Regions from separate parts of the Homo sapiens genome. Here region 1 is linked to region 2. Evidence: promoter capture Hi-C in human tissues and cell types (Jung and others, 2019). All regions are on one chromosome and are shown on one strand. The core of a region is centred on a gene start or on the middle of the fragment in contact, and the rest is flanking DNA. Distances in the headings are between cores, read along the strand shown. Region 1 has its middle 4.8 kb from the start of LPCAT1. Region 2 holds the start of AHRR (aryl hydrocarbon receptor repressor).

The links. The method cuts DNA at HindIII sites, captures the fragments that hold promoters and counts their contacts. A contact is called where the count stands out against the background at its distance.
Region 1: a fragment that was not itself captured here is called in contact with the fragment with the promoter of AHRR in region 2 in 2 of the 25 tissues and cell types used here (dorsolateral prefrontal cortex and lymphoblastoid cells).

Annotation. Positions count from the first base shown.
Region 1 is chr5:1,525,850-1,531,655 of GRCh38, forward strand. No RefSeq gene overlaps it. Among named protein-coding and RNA genes, the nearest start is that of LPCAT1, 4.8 kb to the left of the region's middle. The HindIII fragment of the contact is 3,416 bases long and covers 1,668-5,083 here.
Region 2 is chr5:317,092-322,963 of GRCh38, forward strand. AHRR (aryl hydrocarbon receptor repressor) reads left to right here and starts at 4,623. Exons shown (of 11, transcript NM_001377236.1): 1 at 4,623-4,728. All of the region lies in intron 3 of PDCD6-AHRR (PDCD6-AHRR readthrough (NMD candidate)), which reads left to right. RefSeq lists enhancers at 1,426-1,725, 4,859-5,426, 5,515-5,634 and silencers at 3,835-4,094, 4,245-4,734, 4,825-5,204, 5,215-5,274. The HindIII fragment of the contact is 29,634 bases long and covers 1-5,872 here.

The DNA.
Region 1 (5,806 bases), core at 2,126-4,625, 1.2 Mb after region 2:
TGTCCCTATAGAGAGGGAGATTCGGTCTCAGAGACAGACACAGAGAGAGCTCCATGGGAAGGCCAGGGTTCTGCTGCTACAGGCAAGCAGTTCCCAGGAGCTGGAGAGGCCTGGAGCAGGTCCTCTCTAGTGCTCTCAGAGGGAGCCTAGGCCTAGGGTGCCATGATCGCAGGCTTCTGGCCTCCAGACTGGGAGAGAATAAATTCCTTCTGCTTTAACCTGCAGAGTGCAAAGTGAGTTGGAACCCAGGGAAGGAGGTGGGGAGGCTGGGGGAAGAACCTCATACTGCCCGGCAATCTAAGCAGGGTCAGCAGGTTGTCCTTGAGCCAAGGTCGGTGGAAAGAGGAGTCCCTCTCCCAGAGGGGTCTTAGGTGGAGCCACTGTGGGCAGCGTGGCCTTGGTGTAGAAGCTCAGTGGATCCTTGGGTCACAGGCACCATGTGGAGGAGGCGCAGAGGCCCAGCTCCGGGGTCAGTACACAAGGGGGCACAGCTGGGAGGGTGGGTGTGACAGGGCCAAGGGCTGTGCAGAGCAGGGGGCAGGACTGGGGCACACTCGTCCTCACCAAGCAGAACCCAAGAAGGCCCCAGAGAGCGGCCAAGGAGCGGAGGTCCCCAGAGGGGCTGAGTCCACGGAACTGCCCCATCCAGGAGGACTGGCCAGGAGAGAACTGGGAAGGCCAGCCAGTGGTAGTAGCAAGGGTGGAGACCACCACCCTGCAGGGTGCTGTGGAGTGGGCAGGAGTTACAGAGGTTCTTTCCCAGCTACCTGAGAAAGGAGGAAGCGTGATGGGCAGGAGGAGGAAAATGGATGCTTGGCGGGAGGCTGGGATCCAGGGCAGCAGCTCAAGGAAGGGGCCCAGGACATGTTCCTGGGTGGAAGGCAACAGGCCAGCCTCACAGGAGACGTTGAAAACCCCTGTGAGAGGGGGTGTCATGGGCCCATCTCAGTCTGGAAGGATTCTGCGCTCAGAGGAAGGAAAGGCCTGGGGCCCGGAGCGGGGACTCCTTCTCTGCTGCAGCTGGAAGGGGTTGGATGGTCCACAGGGCACGTGCCCAGGGGGTGGGGAGCTGGGGCACTCTTGTGTGTGGGAGTCAGTTTTCTCCTGGGGACTGCGAGGGGTGGGGGAGAGGGGCTGCTTATGGGGAAATCAGCGCAAGCGTGGAGGAGCAGCAAGGAAATTCCTCCACCCACACTGGGCCTTCACACTTAGGCTTTGGTTCTGCTATGTAATGGAACGTTCTTAAGACCTGGAGGGTCTGGAAGCTTGACTAAGAGAAGTTGGTCTTGGGTGGGGAGGTATAAGCAGTTTTCTCTGTCTAGCAGGGGAAACATGAGTTTCTCATTAGGACTTAGTTTTGGGAAAACCACCCTAAGGGCCCTTTAGCTACAAAGGGAGCCCCCACTGTGGTTCTCAGGAACCTCCTGGAAGCCCCCCACAGCTCCCTGGGGCTGGTAACCACACCCCTGAGGCTTCTTGCTCTGGTTTTGTCTCTGTTTTAAGAGTGTAAGCTCACAGAGAAGTGTTTCCTATACTCCAAGTGCATTGAGAACACAAGGTACCTGCTTGTTCTGGTAAGGCTGAGTATTTTTGTTTTGTTTGTTTAATTTTTGAATTTTAGAGTTATCTATAGGATAGAAAAAGATATTCTCCTTCATTTTCTACTAACATCTTTTTTCAGTTCTGCCTTTCATGGTTGCATTTTATTCTATTTGAAGATTTTTTTCTCTGCATGGAGACCTGATATTCTCAACACCACGTATCAATCACAGACTCCCACTTGTGGGTCCACTTCCAGCATGAACAGAAAGAAGGGTTCCTGAAGCTCCTTCTGGCTGCCCCATCTCACCCATTGGTCCGTGTACTCCTTTACTCCCGTCTCACCCGCCGGTCCGCGTACTCCTTTACTCCTGTCTCACACCTTTCAACCGTCTGCCTTAGTAACTGTAGAGGGGGTTCCTTCCTGTTGGCGCTTCTTCCCAAGAATTGTAGTAGGAATTCAGGGAATTTTATTTTTCCATCCAAATTTTGGAAGCAGTTGTCCCCATTGCTAAAAATTCCCGCTGGAAGCTTCCTTTTGAATCACATTAATTGTACAGGGTACTTCAGTAAGAATGTTACTTCATTCTTACTGTTCATTCTCCCTGTTCCCTAAGAATGTTACTTCAGTAAGAGCTGGCTGGTCCTGGGAGGGGCCCTCGAAGGGCCAGCAAGGCTCCAAGGCTCCAAGGCTTCAAAGCACTAGAAAATACAAAAAAAAAATTTTTTAAATGGATGATGTGGCATGGACACTTTATAATTTTGAGAACGATTTTTCACCAACATGGTTATTCTACCATTTATTTAGATGTTCTTTCATGCCCTTTGATAGCATTTTAAATTTTTCTACATAAAGATTCTGTATTTTTGTTAATTCCTTGATGCTTCATACTTCTGCAGTGATGTAATAATCGTTTCAAAAATTACTCTTGGGCCGGGCGCGGTGGCTCATGCCTGTAATCTCAGCACTTTGGGACGCCGAGGTGGGCGGATCATCTGAGGTCAGGAGTTCGAGACCAGCCTGGCCAACATGGCAAAACCCCATCTCTACTAAAAATATGACAATTAGCCAGGTGTGGTGGCACACGCCTGTAGTCCCAGCTACCCGGGAGGCTGAGGCAGGAGGATTGCTTGAACCTGGGAGACAGAGGTTGCAGTGAGCCAAGATCACGCCACTGTACTCCAGCCTGGGCAAGAACAGAGCGAGACTCTCTTTCAAAAAAAAAAATTACTCTTGACAGTATGGATTATATGGAGAACCACTACTGCTTGTGTAGAGGTTGTATGAAGACAGACCCCAGGGTACAAGAGGACCTGTGGATGTTCCAGATGAGGAGTGCACAGCCCCAGAGTGAGGGACTCCATCATGTACAATGGATGGACTTCCTATTCAACCCACAATCATGACAAACAGAAAATTGTGGTGGTTTTCAGTCACTACAGACTGAGATGGTTTGTTAAGCAGTGATAGTGTCTTTCAAAGAGCAGATATTTTAAATTTTGATGAAGTCCAATTTATCAGCGTTTTCTTTTAGGGATCATGGTTTTGGTATCCTCTTTTATAAATATTTACCTGCATCAAGGTCATTCAGATTTTCTTACTTCAGAAGTTTTACAGTTTTGGCTTTACCATTTAGGTCTGTATTCCATTTCAAGTTGACATTTGTACACGGCATAAAGTAAAGTGGAGGCAGAGGTTTTTTAGTTTCAAATGTTTTCGTCTGAATATTCAACTGTTTCGGCACCATTTGTTGAAGAGAATATTCTTTCTCCATTGAACTACCTTGACAACTTTGTAAAAAAATTAAGTGGCCATATATGTATAGTTGAGTCTATTCCTGGACTCTGTATTTTGTTCCATGGATCTGTACATCTGCAACTGCCAACATCACACTATACTGATTACTAAAGCTTTATATTAGTCTTGAAATTAGACTGCACTGCACTGGAGTGCAGTGGCCCGATCTCGGCTCACTGCAGACTCCGCCTCCTGAGTTCAAGCGATTCTCCTGTCTCAGCCTTCGGAGTAGCTGGGACTACAGGCATGCACCAGCACGCCCAGCTAATTTTTATATTTTTTAGTAGAGACGGGGTTTCACCATGTTGGCCAGGCTGGTCTCGAACTCCTGACCTCAGGTAATCTGCCCGCCTTGGCCTCCCAAAGTGCTGGGATGACAGGTGTGAGCCACCATGCCCAGCCAAAATTTTAGAATCATTTTGTCAAGAAACTGAAGTATCCAGGAACAAACAAACAAAAGGTTGGTGGGATTTTTAATGAGATTGTGTTGAATCTATTGATCAATTTGGGAAAATTGCCATCTTAGCAATATTGAGTTATCCATCCATGAGCATGGTATACAGATCATTTATTTAGGTTTTCTTTAATTTCCCTCAGCAATGTTTTATAATTTTCACTGCATAGGTCTTACATAGGTTTTCGAATTCTGTTCCTATTTCATGTTTTGATGCTGTTATAAATGATACTGCTTCTTAATTTCAATTTCCAGAAGTGTGTTGCTCGTATATAGAACTACAACTGATTTTATGTATTTACTTTGTAGGCATTAACCTTGCTAAATTCATTTATTAGTTCTAGTGACTTTTTTTGTAGATTCTTTAGGATTTTCCCCATTTCACAATCATAATACCTGTAAATAAGGAGCTTTATTTCTTCCTTCACCAGCAACACGTATGCCTTTCGTTGTTTGCATTTCCTCTTGTTCCACTGACTGTGACATCCTCTACAGAATGTTGGACAGAGTGCTGAGACTGGGCATCTTGTCTTGTTAACAATCTTGGGGATTGTTAGTACCCAGTGCCCAGTCTTGACATGAGCTGTGGGTTTTCACAGATGCCCTGAAAAAGGATGAGGGTGTTCCCTTCTATTGCTAGTTTACTGAGTAGTTTTTATCATTTTGGCCAAAAAGCTTGCTCGCGTCTATTGAGATTATCTTAAAATTTTCTTCTTAATCCTGTGAATATGGTGAATTGAATTGGTTCATATTCTGATTTTAAACCAACCTTGTTTTTCTGGATAGGCCTCACTTAACCATACTACACGATTGATTTATTACCGAATTTAAATTGATAAATTTATGTTAAAGATGTTTGTGTCTATGTTCATAAGAAATATTGGCCGTAGTTTCCCTTTCTTATAATGTCTTTGCCTGATTTCTAATGAGGATAATACTGTCTTTAAAACATGAGTTAGGAAGTATTCCAAATTCTCTATTTCTAAGTAAAGAGTGAGTAGGGTTGGTATTATATCTTCCTTAAATGTTTGTTAGAGTTCATCAGGGAAGCTATCTGGAATGAGAATTTTCTTTTTCAGAAAGATTTAAAGATTATGAATTTGAGTGCTTCATTAGATAGGTGTTATTCATCTTTTCTATTTCTTCCATCTAAAAACCTAAATTTTTTTAGTAATTTAGATATTTCCAGGAATTTGTCCGTTTTATCTAAGTTATTGATTTATTGGCATAAAATTGTTTATCATAATCCCTTTTATCCTTTTAATATCTATAGGATCTAGACTGATAGCCCTTGTTCACGTTTATAATATTGGTAATTTGTGTCTTCTTCCTTTTTCTTGATCACTTTGGCTAGAGGTGTATTTTGTTATTGATCTTTAGAAATAGCTGCCTTTTGAATTCATTGATTTTTTCCTATTATTTTTCTGTTTTCTATTTTTGTTGATTTCTGTCTTTATCATTTTCTTTTCTCTCCTTATTTTAGGTTTAATTTGCTCTTCTGTTCCTACTTCCCTAAGTAGGAAGTATAGACCATTGATTTTAGACCTGCCTCATGTAATACCACAAATTTCCTTCTAAGTTCTGCCATATCTACATTCCACAAATGGTGGCATGCTGATTTTTCATTTTCTTTCAGTTTTCAATGTACTTTCTCTTTTCCCATGTGGTTTCTTCTTTGATTACTGTGGCTTTTTTGTTATGTGTTAACTTCCAAATATTTGGAGAATTTCCAGTTAATTTTTATTATAACTTATTTGTGGTCACAATACATACTCTGTATGATTTCAATCCTTTTATAGTCTGTGTTTATGACTGTTCAGGTGTATATTATAAGAAAAGGTTCTCTTGTTTTTGTGTGGAGTGTTCTATGAATGCCAGTTGACTCCATTGGTTGATAGTTTTGTTCAAGCTTCCTGTATCTTTGTGCTTTTCTGTTACTGTTATATGAATGACTGAAAGACCAACTATAATTGTGGATTTGTTTATTTCACCTTTCAATACTGTTAGTCTTTGCT
Region 2 (5,872 bases), core at 3,373-5,872:
GTTGTGGTGGATTCCTTGTGGAGGGGGTGCCAACCCGCAGGGAAGCAGGGCTGCCGTGCCCCCTGCCCAGCCACACTGCCAGCACAGACCCCATCCTCAGGCGCCTGCAGGGAGGCCACCCACGCCTTCCTGGGTGAGGGAAGCCCCTGAGCTAAACCTCACTGCACTCTGAGGCCCCAAGGGCCAGGCAGCTGCACACAGCCTGGGCCACGTGGGGGCAGTGCGGCTGCACCACGGAGCTCTCGGGAGCTGCTGACTGACCGGGAGGACCTGCCCGACACAGCCATGGGATTTATAGCCGCAGAGAGAAGACTACAGAGAGACGGGCCTTCGCCCTTTCAGCTCTCCCTTGTCAGGCAGGCTGTGCCCTGTGACCCTTCAGAGCCTGGGTTTGGGGGTGGAGGGGGTGGACAGCTGACCAGGTGCCTGGCGCAGGCCCAGTGTGGTGAGGCTGGGTCGCGGAGGCCAGGCCAGGCCAGCGGCCACGACCACCCACCAGGGACCCTCAGCGTCACGACCCCGGTCCCAAGACCCAAGACAGCAGGACATGGGGGCACAGCCATCTCTGGGGGCCTCTCCTTCCCCCCGCTCTGGGTCCTCAGTCATCAGTGCAGACATGGAGGTGCAGGTGCACGCCGTACACCCTCACCTGGGGCCCCTGGCCCATGCCTCCCCACCCTCCCTACCCTGATCTCCCCCCACAACCCTACACCTCCCCGGACAACCCTGCACCTCCCCCAACAGCCACCCTGCACCTCCCCGCCACAACCCTGCACCTCCCCCAACAACCCTTCAACTCCCCTCTCACCTTGCACCTGCCCCTCACCCTGCACCTCCCCCCATCCTGTACCTCCCCCCTTCACCCTCCACCTACTCCCAACCCTGCATCTCCCCCCAACCCTGCACCTCCCCACATCCTTCACCTCCCTCCTCACCTGGCACCTCCCCCCATCCTTTCCCTCCCCCAATCCTTCACCTCCCCCCTCCCTTCATCTCCCCCCTCACCCTCCACCTCCCCCCCGCACCCTGCACCTCCCACCCTTACCCTGCACCTCTCCCCATCTTTTACCTCCCTCCCACCCTGCATCTCCCCCCAACCCTGCACCTCCCCCCATCCTTTATTTCCCCCCACCCTGCATCTCCCCCCAACCCTGCACCTCCCCCCATCCTTTACCTCCCCCCACCCTGCATCTCCCCCCAACCCTGCACCTCCCCCAATCCTTCACCTCCCCCCTCACCCTCCACCTCCCCCCCTCACCCTGCGGCAAGCAGAGAGCTGACTCCAGCACAGTGAACTTGGAATGATGGAATGCACCCTGGAAGCAGCTCTGACGGGCGCCACCGTGACTGTGCCCAGCAGGGAGCTCCCTTGTGGTTTTTAACAAAAGACAAAATTCCCCAGGTCCTTCTCTGTGCTACAGGAGAAACTGGTGTGGGAGAGGGAACCCAGGCGTGACCAGGGAGAAACTGGTGTGGGAGAGAGAGGGAACCCAGGCGTGACCAGGGCTGCCCAAGCGGCTCCCTGTGAGGCATCAACGCTGGAGACACAGCAGTCATGGGGAACCCGGGGAACCCGGGAAACCCAGCCGCCATCAGAGAGCCAGAGAGCCGCAGGCGCCTGTGCGGGGTCCTGGCCTGGCCCGAGGGGTCAGCACACCCCTGTCTGCCTCTGAGGTCAGGGCCCTGGGGGCTCCTGACCTGGCCTGCCTGTGGGAGGCAAAGGTGTGGCCAGGAGAGGACAGGAGGGGGCAGTCACAGTCACCACTCCTGGAGGCCCATGAAGAGCAGCTTTGCCCCCACACTTCTGTGAAGCCAACTTGGGCCTGTTTGGGAGGGGCCTGGCGCTGCAGCCGGCCGTGGGCACCTGCCATGTGGCGGTCCACTGGAGGCCAAGTCCAGCTCATATGGCTCTGGGGACCCACCGCACCAGACTCCAGTGTGGGGGTACCCGGAGCTGGGGGTGGGTCCTCGGAGGCTTCCAGTCCTGCCCCAGCTGCCATCCCTGCCAGGTGTTAGCGCCTCTGGTTCAGAGTCCCGAGAGGACCAGTGGCCCAGGAGAAAGGGGTGTGTCTCCAGCTGCTGGGAGTGTGGGTGGGAGCCAGAGGGTTCAATGACACTGGGGACAGCAAGTCCGGACTGGAGGGAGGAGACCTCCTGAACAGGGTCCCCAGCACAGAGGCAGAAAGGAGACTCTGTGACTGGGGGTGTCAGCTGCATCTGGACCTTCGTGGTGGGGAGGGAGGCACGCCCAATAGCCCGTCTGAACGGGAGGTGGCTCAGGGATCCCCCATTGTGCTGGTGGGGTGCCCAGAGACTCCAGGACTCCACGTGGGGCTCTGCCTGCTAAACCCTGAGACTTTAGGGGCAGTGGCTCCCACGGCAGGGTCATCCTTTTTCTGCACAGTCCCACTGGCTGCCCCAGGTCCTGCAGAGACCTGAGACTTTGGGGACAAGCACAGGGGACAGGTGGGCGTGGATGGCCTGTGCCGGTCAAGGGCAGTGGGAAGGAAGGAGGAGCAGTTTCCTTCTGTACCCAGGAAATAGAGTAACAAAGTGTCTCATTCCAGTTGGTTCTGGTGGGACAGGGTAGGTGGAAGGGAACCCGTGCTTGCCCTGAGACATGGGGGTGCTGTCTTCCCATGCAGGGGGACTGCGGCTCACCACCATCACATTCTACCCACAGGTTCTTATTTTAACAGATCACAAAGGTACTATGTGCTTCTTGCAAAAATTTACAGGAATTGTAGACTTTTCAAAAAGTAAAAAGAAATTAAAGTTCACCTGTTACCTCAGAGTTATCCAGCTACACATTTTCTGTGCATAATTCACTTTACAAAAATTGGATCAAGATAAAACTAATGATTTTTAAAAATACAGCAATATAGTTGCACATTGTTCCATATCAAAAAATAAATGTGTGCACCCAGGGCTCCTGGCTGTCTCAGTGGCATAGTGGCTCATGCCTGTAATCCCAACACTTTGGCAAGCCGAGGTGGGTGGATCACCTGAGGTCAGGAGTTCGAGACCAGCCTGGCCAAGATGGCAAAACCACTATCTACTTAAAAAAAAAAAAAAATTAGCCAGGTGTGGTGGCGCGCGACTGTAATCCCAGCTACTTGGGAGGCTGAGGCACGAGAATCGCTTGAGCCCTGGAGGCAGAGGCTGCAGTGAACTGAGATCGCACCACTGCTCTCAGGCCTGGGTGACAAAGCAAGACTCTGTCCCAAAAAAGCCCATTTACTCAGCTCACATTTTTGAGCCTCTGCTATTCGACAGGAACCAGAGGTGAGCAGAGCCGACTTGGTGACCCCTGGGGACAGAGCGGCAGAACTCAGCAATTCTGGGCTGCCCTGCAGGAGCTACACCCGGGGAGGGGCGGTGGCCACTTGGGGGCAGGGTGGGCTTCTCAGCTGCGCCCACCCCACCTTGGGAGCTGTGTCTGGAAAAGAGACTTTTCCTGAGCCGACAGCAGACAGCGAGTGCAAAGGCCCCAAGGCCCGCACGCCTTATTCAGAGAACAGCAGGAGGCGCGGGGCGGGTTGGGGGCGTCAGGGAGACGGGGTTTGACTGAGAACCTGGGGGCGCCAGTGACAGCCTCGGCCGCGTTGCTGAAAACCGACCTTGCGGGATGAAGAGGGCGCGGTTCCCCCGGCTGGGATGAGGACCGCGGATGCTGAGGAGCGGACTCCAGGGACCACCGACTCCATGGCCGGCCCCAGCGAGGGCGAGAACGGGTGGAAGCCGGCCAGGGTCTGTGGAGACGTCAGGGTGCGAGGCCAGGCTGAGGTGTCCCCAGGGATCCCCTGAGGGTACAGGGAATTCAGCCAGGGCCTGCGCGCCCGGACGGAGGACTAGAGGGGGCCAAGGACCACCGGGAGGGGGAAGGAGAAGGCGCAGCCCGAGGTCGGAGGGGCCGGCGGGCGCGCAGAGGGCGCGGGGTGAGCCCTAAGGACCTGCAGGCAGGACCCTGCTCTCGGCCGCGCGGTCCCGGGTGCCGACCGGCGGGGTGGGCGGGGCAGGGGCACCCAGGGCCGCACACCTGCCGCGTGGGACCCTGAAATGCCCAGGACGAAGAACGTCGCACGGACGACCCTGCCGTGCCTGGCGCGCGTCCGCTTCCTGGGAAGCTCAGGATCCAAAAGCATCTTAATATTCTCTATAATTCGCCAAAAACCATGACTCCTTTTACATTTTCGAAACGACCTCATGGGGCAGGCGAGGGGGCACACGCTCTCCTCACTTTACCTGTTCGGGTCTACACCGCCCGGCTCTAGGGCCGGCAGCTCAGCACAGCCGGCCGCGAGCGCTGGGGAGGGGACGGGGGCGCAGGGAGAACCGGGGGACCCTGGGCGCACACAGACCCCAGGGGGAACGCAGGGCCTGGAGGGGCTCAGCGCGCGACCCCCGCCTCGGGGCACGGAGACTCCGGGGGATCACTGGGACGCGAAGGGCGCAGGGCGGACCCCAGGGGAACCGGATGGCGTCTCCGGTTCGCCAGGGCAGCTGGGGCAGCCGGACCCGAGACAGCCGGACCCGCGGGCGCCCTCTGCCGCCTCCCGGCCCTGGATGCTGCGGGGCGGGGCGGGCGGCTCGCGTGCCGGGGTGGGGCAGTCCCTGGAGCCGCCGCGGGTTCCCGGGATGCGAGCGCCGGCACCCGCCGCCACAGCTCCTGGCCAGGGCGCGCTGCCCCGCGGGTGTGCCTGAGCCTCCGCGCCCCGCAGGCCCTGGGTAAGTGTCCTGGGCGCCCCCGCAGGCCCCCGCCGCGTGCCGCCCGCGGTGGAGACGGGATGCGCTCCCGGGTGTGGGGCTGAGGGACGGGCGCCGGCGTCGGGACCCTCCTCACGCCGCATCCTCGCGTCGCCAGGCCCGGCGGCCCCGGGACGGGGCGGACACTCTGGGGTGCGGCTGGCTGGTCTCACTTAAAACTCGGACCTCGGAGGGAAGCCGCGGCGCGTCCACGGTTCGTGGTCCTCAGCGTCCCCTCGAGAGTGTTCTGAGCCTTCACTCCCCGGGCGTTCCGTGCGGGCCGCGCTCCCTGGGGCTGGGCGGGTGCGGGCGGCGGAGCGGGGCCCCGCTGTCGGGCCGAGGGCGCCAGGTCCGGGGGGCCTCACCCCCGGGAAAGGCCCATGTTCAGGCTTGGTTTCAGTAGCACCCAGTAGCGCTGAAGTCTTATTTTGAGCGGCCAGAATTCCCAGACCGGATGCCCTGAGAGAGCGATGTGGCGCCTGGAGTCCACGCTGGGACCCCTTCTGGGGAGGGGTCGCCATGGGCGCGTGACAGGCAGGGGCCACCCTCTGACCTCTTCTGCGAGGCCGGAGGTCAGAGACCTTGTGCAGAAGCGTCCCACGGGCCTGTCCCACGGGCCTGTCCGGCTGTGGCCTCCGGGATGGCAAGGGCAGGCGGGGAGGGGCTTCCTCCCTGGGCCTCCTGTGCGCGCGCACAGGCTCTCGTCTGCGGGGTTCTTGCAGAAGGGTGGGCGTGTGCGCGCGTTCTCCAAACGCCACCCCCACGGGGCCTCACAGCCGCCCCGGCCTGGCAACCGTCACCCATTTTACGAACGAGGACATCAAGGTAGGTCGCTCATCCAGCCTCTCAGAGCAAGTGACTGGCGGCGTTTGGACTCGGGCCGAGTGTGCCATACCCATCCCGCACAAAGCCGGGGCTCGATGCGGCCCCAGAGTCGCTGAAAAGCCACGAGTAACAAGAACTGGAGAACGTAGGATGCTGACCCGGCGGACGCCGCCGCCTGGGGAGCCGCTTCGACGGGGGGGACGCCACCGCCTGGGGAACGGCTTTTATTTTCGTTTTCTTACTTATCTGTATTCTCTAAAATGAACAGACACGAGTTTTACCACGGGAGAAAGGTTCTTAG